2 separate regions of the Homo sapiens genome follow, and region 1 is linked to region 2. Evidence: promoter capture Hi-C in 16 types of primary human blood cells and fetal thymus (Javierre and others, 2016). All regions are on one chromosome and are shown on one strand. The core of a region is centred on a gene start or on the middle of the fragment in contact, and the rest is flanking DNA. Distances in the headings are between cores, read along the strand shown. Region 1 overlaps HSF5 (heat shock transcription factor 5). Region 2 holds the start of OR4D2 (olfactory receptor family 4 subfamily D member 2).

The links. Contacts are between HindIII fragments. The CHiCAGO score rates a contact against its expected background, and 5 or more counts as called.
Region 1: a fragment that was not itself captured here is called in contact with the fragment with the promoter of OR4D2 in region 2 in 1 of 17 cell types (M1 macrophages); the score reaches 5.2 in M1 macrophages.

What each region holds. Positions count from the first base shown.
Region 1 is chr17:58,432,869-58,437,249 of GRCh38, reverse strand. The region is part of intron 5 of HSF5 (heat shock transcription factor 5); the gene reads left to right. Among named protein-coding and RNA genes, the nearest start is that of RNF43, 18 kb to the right of the region's middle. The HindIII fragment of the contact is 1,708 bases long and covers 2,190-3,897 here.
Region 2 is chr17:58,163,513-58,168,450 of GRCh38, reverse strand. OR4D2 (olfactory receptor family 4 subfamily D member 2) reads right to left here and starts at 1,469. Exons shown (of 2, transcript NM_001004707.4): 1 at 1,398-1,469. The HindIII fragment of the contact is 4,615 bases long and covers 1-2,605 here.

The DNA of each region.
Region 1 (4,381 bases), core at 1,794-4,293, 270 kb before region 2:
TGCCTTTCTAAGATTTCTGAGACTTTCTAGGGTTCACAGTAGCTTTTATTTTTGAGTTTCTGCTTAAATGTAATTCCAGACTTGTCCATATCTGACCTCCCAGGGCTGTTCTTATCTGTCTGTTCCATGCTATACCAGATGCAGAACTTGGCCCACTTTCTTTGACCTCTTCCTCCCTTTAAGCATTATGCTAGGCATGTGTATGTGTAGCACACTTTTATGAAGATGTCGGGAGGCAGAAATACCGACAGAAATATTTAGAATACCGCAAAAATGGAATTAAAAGGCCCCCAGTCACTTTACGGCATCTTTCCTTGTCACTAGTCAATATGGTCCTCTGCCATGTTGCTTTCTTTCCTTGTACTAGCACCAGACCTTCGTTTCTCTGCTTTCTGTTGTTGTTGTTGTTATGGTTGGTTTTTTTTTTCTGCTCTTTCCCCAGGTGCTGAATTCCTGTGTTTTACTTAGGCAAAGAAGGTTAGGTATCTCTTCTATTTTTTGATGTTTTTAAGGCGTCATTTTTCCCAACCAGAACAATCTATCGAGACATATTCCTCAACAAAGACAATTACCTCCCTGAGAGGAACTCTGGTGCCTGCTGTTAAAAAAATAATTTCCTCTCTTTCACTACATGTTATGGTTATAAGTGTAACTGATAAAATAATTAGCACAGTAATTATCTTTATTAACTCTTCCTGTTGTTTTTTTTTTCTAAGTAAAGCCTTATCCTTTGGTCAGTGCAGTTAATAGATGAGTCTTAATTGATGTTGGCTTCCTGCTGTGAAACATAAGAGTTGTGAAATCTTGGCATCATTATGACACCTAATCACATTTTCATTTTATTATGGACAAGAGGAAAATGAGTTATGATTAAGCTAGAACCTCTCTGCTAAAAAAAAAAAAAGTTTTTTAATTAAAGTGTAGGCAGAAATACAATTCATGAAGTTGCAAATGATTCTGCTCTGATAGACCTTGGCCTAGCAGTTGGTCTATGAAAACATGGCTATATGTAAGGTCCCATGGCATTAAGAGACCTTAACCAAAGTCAATGTGTGAGATTAATATACTGCTCATTAAAAACAGTACAGCATATGGTTAGAAAGAAAGCTTTTGGTGTTAGAAAAACCTGCATTAAAACCTGGATTCTGCTCTTTACTGTGTGACCTTGGACGTGTTTACCTAACTGAGCTTTGGTGTCCTCATCTGCAAAATGAGGAATATGGATTATAATGATATAAATCATAGAACTGGCTTAGTATTATGCTGGGTTACATAGTAAGTAGTCCATACATAGTAGCAATAGAATTTTAGCTATTTTTATAACATTTACTTTTTTTTTTTTTTTTTTTTTGAGATGGAGTCTCGCTCTGTCGCCCAGGCTGCGGTGCAGTGGCGTGATCTTGGCTCACTACAAGCTCCACCTCCCAGGTTCACACCATTCTCCTGCCTCAGCCTCCCGAGTAGCTGGGACTACAGGCGCCCGCCACCATGCCCGGCTAATTTTTTGTATATTTAGTAGAGATGGGGTTTCACCATGTTAGCCAGGATGGTCTCGATCTCCTGCTCGCCTCAGCCTCCCAAAGTGCTGGGATTACAGGCATGAGCCACAGCGCCCAGCCAATATTTACTGTTCTTATGTTTATTACCACTGGTTACTTTTCAGATGGCTAGTCTCTATTTATTTATTTATTTGTTTATTTATTGAGCTGGAATCTCACTCTGTTGCCTAGGCTGGAGTGCAGTGGCGTGATCTCGACTCACTGCAACCTCCGCCTCCTGGGTTCAAGCGATTCTCGTGCTTCAGCCTCCCAAATAGCTGAGACTACAGGCATGAGCCACCACACAACTGATTTTTGTATTTTTAGTAGAGATGGGGTCTTGCCATGTTGGCCAGGTTGGTCTTGAACTCCTGACCTCAGGTGATCTACCCACCTTGGCCTCCCAAAGTGCTGGGATTACAGGCATGAGCTACTGCACCCCGCCTTAGTCTCACTTTAAATTCACGTAGGCTGTCAGTGTTGCAGCAGTCCTATAATATTTTCTAGTCAATATATTCCCCATTCTCCAAAGCCACTCTATTATATCCTGTCCTCTCTGCTCCGTTTCCAACACTCCTCCTCTCTCTTCATTCGTGGCTGTGACCCTGTTTTATATCTTACTGAGAAAATAGAAGCAGCTAGAATGAAGCTTTCATATCTTCCCACCAACATATTTATCAGTCTACTTCCAATTGTAACCCTACACGCTGCCTTTCCTTCTGTTATAATGGAAAAGGGCCAGTCCTTTCATTTGTATACAGAATCCTGTCCCCTTTGGTGTACTCACAGACTTAGGACCTACTGCTATCCCCCTTACTCTTCAATAATCACATTGTATCTTTATTTTTGCTTTCCCCCTAAGGCAGAGTCTTCCTCTGTCATCCACGCTGGAGTGTAGTGGTGTGAATACAGCTCACTGCAACCTCGACTTCCCGGCTCAAGCAATCCTCCCATCTCAGCCTCCTGAGTAACTGGGACCACAGGCTCATGCCACCATGCCCAGCTAATTTTTTTAATTTTTATAGAGACAGGGTCTTGCCATGTTGCCCAGGTTGTCTTGATTTCCTGGTCTCAAGTGATCCTCCTGCCTTGGCCTCCAAAGTGCTGGGATTATAAGAGTGAGCCACAGTGCCTGGCCACATTTTATCTTTTTTTTTTTTTTGAGATGGAGTCTAGCTCTGTTGCCAGGCTGGAGTTCAGTGGCAAGATCTCGGCTCACTGCAACCTCCGCCTCCCAGGTCAAGCGATTCTCCTGCCTCAGCCTCTTCCCAAGTAGCTGGAATTACAGGCACGCGCTGCCACATCCAGCTAATTTTTGTATTTTTAGTAGAGATGGAGTTTTACCTTGTTGGCCGGGATGGTCTCGATTTCCTCCCAAAGTGCTGGGATTATAGGCATGAGCCACTACGCCCGGCCTAACATTTTATCTTTTATGTTAGATAATTCCCATCAGCATGCAAACATGTCGTCATAGGTTCTATGTTTTAAAAATCCCTTTGGGCCAGGCACAGTGGCTCACGCCTGTAATCCCAGCACTTTGGGAGGTTGAGGCGGGTGGATCACCTGAGGTCAGGAGTTCTTGACCAACCTGGCCAATATGGTGAAACCCCGTCTCTACTAAAAATACAAAATTAACCAGGCGGGGTGGCATGCGCCTGTAATCCCAGCTACTCGGGAGGCTGAGGCAGGAGAATCAATTGAATCCGGGAGGCGGAGGTTGCACTGAGCCAAGAACACGCCACTGCACTTCAGCCTGGGCGACAAGAGTGAAGCTCCATCTAAAAAAAAAAAAAAAAAAAATCCCTTTGACCTTTCCTTCATACCTCCATGTAGCTATTCCTCTACTTTTTCTGCTTTCCTTAGAGCAAAGCTCCTTGGAAGCATATCCTTACTTCAACTACTCCAAGCAGATTTTTCTTTCTTCTGCTCAACTGAAACTTCATTTGTCAAGGTTTCCAATGACTGCCATGTTGCCAAATCCAGTAGCCAATTATCAGTCCGTATTTTACTTAATTCACCTCAGCAGCATTTGAACAGATTATTTCAACCTTCCTGAAATGCTTTCTTCTGGCTTGTGGAACATCTCCCTTTCCTAGTTTTCACTGGCCAACTCTGTAGTTTCTTTTACTGAATACTCTTCAACTTTCCTAATTTCTAAATATTGATGAACCCCAGAGCTCAATTCTTTCTCTCTCTCTATTCAATTCCTAGGTAATCTTAACCAGTCTCATGCTTTTATTATCACCTTTGTAGTGGTGTCTCCGAAATCTGTATCTTAAGTCTCAATCTTCTCTGAACCTCACTTGTATACACTACTGCCTACGCTACGTCTTTGGATGTCCAGTAGGTGTCCCAAGCTTAATATATTCTACCTTTTCCCCAATTTTACTTATTTACTTATAAATAAATAGTATTGGCCAGGCGTGGTGGCTCATACCTGTAATCCCAGCACTTTAGGAGGCCAAGGTGGGCAGGTCACTTGGGCTTAAGCGAGACTAGCTTGGCCAACATGGTGAAACCATGTCTCTACAAAAAACATGCTTGGTGGCAGGTGCTTGTGGTCCCAGCTACTCGGAAGGCTGAGGTGGGATAATTGCTTGAGCCTGGGAGGCAGAGGTTGTAGTGAGCTGTGATTGTGCCACTGCACTCCAGCCTGGGCAACAGAGCAAGACCTTGTCTCAGATGAATGAATGAATGAATGAATGAATGAATGGTACTTCTAGTCATCTGGTCAGCCACAACTCTTGGAGTCTCCCTTGACTCCCTTCTCTCACATGTCCAGTCCATCAGCAAATCTTATCAGCTCACTGTAGATGCAGATCCAGAATCTGACCATTTCTCAC
Region 2 (4,938 bases), core at 220-2,719:
GGATCACTTGAAGTCAGAAGTTTGAGACCAGCCTGGCCAACATGGTGAAACTCCGGATCTGTACTAAAAATACAAAAAAATTAGCCGGGCGTGGTGGCACACACCTGTAATCTCAGCTACTTGGGAGGCTGAGGCAGGAGAATCGCTTGAAGCTGGTTGGAGGCTGCAGTGAGTGGAGGTCATGCCACTGCACTCCAGCCTGGGTGACAGAGCGAGACTCTGTCTCAAAAAATCAAAAACAAAAAAAAAAGAAGAAGAAGATGGAGGGTGACAGGGGAGGGGGTCAGTGGTCTCCCCCCTCCCCCTGCCCTGTCTCAATCTCTCTTACCCTCTCTTACCTGGCCTATTGCAATCTATTATCTACAATATTATAGGTCATTCTAATCTTATTCTGCTCCTTCAGTTTACTTCCACTCCAGGACACCTTCTTTTTTTTTTTTTTTTTTTTTTTGTGACGGAGTCTCGCTGTCGCCCAGGCTGGAGTGGCGCGATCTCGGCTCACTCACTGCAAGCTCCGCCTCCCGGGTTCACGCCATTCTTTTACCTCAGCCTCCCGCGTAGCTGGAACTACAGGCGCCCACCACCTCGCCCGGCTAATTTTTTTTGTAACACGGTTTCACTGTGTTAGCAGGATGGTCTCGATCTCCTGACCTCGTGATCCGCCCGCTTCCGCCTCCCAAAGTGCTGGGATTACAGGCATGAGCCACCGCGCCTGGCCTCACTCCAGGACACCTTCTACACAGCTGTCCATGAGACCCCTCTGACTCAGATGTGATCATATTCCTCATTGTTATAATATTTGATTTGCTCACAGCTTAAAACTCAAACTCTCAGAAGCCACCTAAAATGCTCTGTGGATAAACTGAGGGTGGAAAAACATACCTACATACGTGCATGCAACTCTCTCTCAGCATTTCATACAAGACTATAAAAAATAGCCTCCCTATACCTTTCTAATCAGTATCACTGTCACCTGGGAACTGATTGCTGTTCAAAGAACTCATAGCTTCCATGTAGGCAGTATATTTCATTATTTTCATATCTTTGGTAATAAATCCTGTTTCCTGAAATGCCTTTTGCTACCTTCTCAACCTAGAGGCGATAAGAGAAATATCACTTTCCCTTTGACTCCTCCCCCCATTTCTCTCATGCAGAATTAATTCCTTATTTCTCTGTGTTCCAATAGCATTTGATAAATACCTCCATTATAGCATTTATCATTTTTTCTATTGCTTCTCTTAACTAGATTGTAAATTCAATAACTTAGTAAGCCCAGAGTCTATGACAGCATCTCTGATTTAGCACTTGCTCAGAAATGTTTGCCAACTTAATATATTAGCAGGTAAATGTGACTTTGTTTTATGTGACAATGTCGAGAATCTTGTGATTTTCCTCACCGTTGATGTCCTTTGCTGTGAGCATCCTCCCTCTAAGTCTCATAGGGCGAATTCTGTGCTTTGTTGTTTTCCTATGTAATCGGAGGCATCCGTTTTCAACATCACATTCCCCTTGCAGTTTTTCTTGAGTCTCTGCTCATCCTTTAGACTTACTATCGTCAGGTCTATGTCACTTGCTTATTACTCCCACCCTCTAGCAGGTGTTGCAAGATCTTTCTTACAGCTGATCTCTGTGCAGCTGAGGAAACACTGGTCTCTCACCTCCCTTTAGCCCAGAATGGGGCTTCAGTGTACATCTTCTTGGAGATCCTTTGCTTCAGCCTCACAGTTTCTTAGCTCCTGCCCTTACTTCATGAATAATACCATGGGTGAGACCCCAGGGGAAGGGGGAATATCCTTTGGGAGAAACTATTGGACAGGGCTCAGGAAGCTGAGCTGGGCTGATTATCACTGGGGCCAAGGGAGCAATGGGAGTTGTTAAAAAGTTTCTAAATGTCTCAAAAGCACACACTCTTTGAGAGGTCTTCCTTGGGGGGCCCAAAGTACCAAGCACATTGAAAATTTTAGAGATTTGAGGAATGGGTAATATTCAGGCCAAGATCCAAAAGGACAAGAGGGTCTTCAAAAAAAAGGAGACTCTGAGAGTTTTAGGAGAATTTCTTTCTTAGACCAGTGACACCTACCCTTGAGAGAATTACCTGAAGGCCTTGTTAAAAGGCAGACTTCTGTTCCCAGCCCAGAATTTCTCATTCAGTACATCAATGGTAAGACCAAGAATTTGCATTTGTAGCAAGTTCTCAGATAATGCTGATGCACCTGTTCCAGGGACCAGACATTGAGAACCAACGACTTGCTCTTCAGCACAATGGATAGTTCTCTTTCATGGTGTTGTCAAGGTAACTGGTTTGATTTCTTCTCCTTTTAAACTGAATTGATCTTTACATAGGCAACGTCATGGATGGGAAAATGTCTGCATACTAAAATGAAAACTTAATTACCCCATAAATCTTGTTCTTCATCTTGTCAACCAATACCCCCACAGTTGATTCACTACCCATATCAATTATACTCACACCATCTACAAAGTGCTAGCATTATTTACATGTCAATTATTACTCCCTTTAATACAAGGATTGGCACAAGAAGCCCATATATTTTCTAATTATGAGGAACTGATTAAAAATTGGAATTAACCAACACTGTAAGCTTGATGTGCTGTAAAATCTGTGTGATTTCTCACAGCTCTCTGATCCACGTGAGGTTCTCAGGTTGGTCTGAGTTCTTTCATTGCGAATGTTTATACTTGGCAAAATAAAGACTCTGCCTCTGGGGATAAGAACACGAAGTGACGTTCTTTCACATACAAGAGATGTCAATTTAAAAAAAACACAAATTCTTCCCATTATTTGGAGCTTTAGTCTACTTTAAAATTGAGCCACTCAGGAAAGTAGTCTAGATTGATGGTGGGGATGGGCACAGGCCTTGTTAATGTTATTGACTCTCAGATGGGTGATTTTGAATTACCTGGATTAATTCTTTATGATTCCGATTTAGCTTTCAGTAATAGAGACCTGGTAGGTTCCAGTTTATATATTTCCCCTGTCAAAAGTACAGGTAGGTCGTAAAATGTCCATCAAAGCTCATCTTTACTGCAACCACTAGCCAGTATAATGGTTGCCAGTGTATGAATGGCCTGGATGGAGTAATTATGCTAAAGACTCAGTCATGGAAAATTGAGCTGAGAAAATTATTTCTATATGTATCACATTTCTAAGAAAATAAATGTTTGTCAGACTTAGCTACTATTATAATGTCAAGCCACTAAACGGATACAGGACACGTGTAGAGGAAATATCATGTAAATTCTCATGCAGGAAGCCCAGCATCATTGATAATTAATCATTCTCCCTTTGTGATGGTCTGTGTTATGTGTCAACTTGACTAGGCTATAGTTTCCAGTTATTCAATCAAACTCTAATCTAGGTGTTGCTGTGAAGGTATTTTGTAGATAAAATTGATGTCTATAATCAGTTGACTTTAAGTAAAGGAGGTTATCCTAGATCATCTGGGTGTGCCTGATTCAATCAGTTGAAAGAACTAAAGAGAAGAACTGAGGTTTCCCTGAAGGAGGAAAATTCTGCATGTAGACAGCAACTTCAGCTGATGGCCTGCCCTGCAGATTACGTACTTGCCTAGCCAGCTTCACAATCATGTAAGCCAAGTCCTTGCAATAAATACCTTTATCTCTCTCTCTCTCTCTCTCTCTCTCTCTCCTCTCTCTCTCTCTCAGAGAACATAGCCTCAGTAAGAGATGTCTTAAAGGCATAAATTCTCATAAATATAGCCATATTCATTTTAATGGGGGCATATTCAACAAATTCAATTAAGCACCTGGTGTTGTGGATTAACCATGTGTAAGATAAATCTGGAAGAAATTTTACTTATATTCCTTCCCTTTGTGTCAGTGTTGTAGATTATAAGCAGCTTTTCTGTGCTGTATATTACCTTTAGAACTGATATTCTGAATCATATAAAAGTAAGATTTTTATAAACTAAAAAGTGGCCCAAGACAACTTTTAAAAAATTAAATGAATAAATGACTTCTGGTTATAAGAAAACAAAGGTTTTTATTTTTCTCTTCCTCACTGGCAACAGAAATTCCACTTTCAATAAAATTAAGACATGTTTACAACTCAGATGACAACAAAACCCAAAATGAACCATGAAGGACTATCAAGTACTGTGAAGAGAGAGAGGCTTCTGCCCACAACAACTCCTGGACAATGCTGGCAGAGTTGGCTCCTAAGTAGGTGGTATATAATGAAGATAAAACAACCACCTTTGTGTGGATGGACCAGATCCGGGCACACAGGCTGGCTGCAAGAGCTTCCTTAAGTGATATTAAACACCAAAAAGGGATTGAGAGGCTGGGCTTATGCCACATTTATAACTGCACTATCCAGTAAGATAGAGAAACTGTGGGCTATGGGCACCCCTGCAGCTGCTGATCTTTACCAGCTGAAGAGATAGACTAAATTTACACGCACGCACACACACACACACACACACACACACAAACACACAAATGCCTCTATCATTCAGTGTTCAGTGCTGCACTGTGAGCCCAGGACAATTAACCCAGAGCACTCCCTGGCCTGTCTTCACTACCATCACCACCACTTTTTATTTTAACACATAACTAGTTAAACAAATTGCTTCTTTAAGAATGTGTAATAATTAAAAAGCAACTTGCAGAGTCTATAAAAAATAGGTCAAAAAGGAGGAAAGAAGGCAGGTGAAGAGCACAGAACAGAATAGAGAAGAAAATTTTTATTGAAAAGTTTTTCAAGAATGTAGATAACTCAGAAAAAAATGAATCAAACTTCTATCTATTAAGAGCTCAGCAGAATAATTAAATCTTAAGAATTGAATGATAATATGAAAACAGAGATGGAAAACGTAACTGGCAGAGATCAGGAAAAAAGAATAGGAAGAAAATAAAATCATCACAAAAAAATGGAAACAGTGAAAATGAGAATAG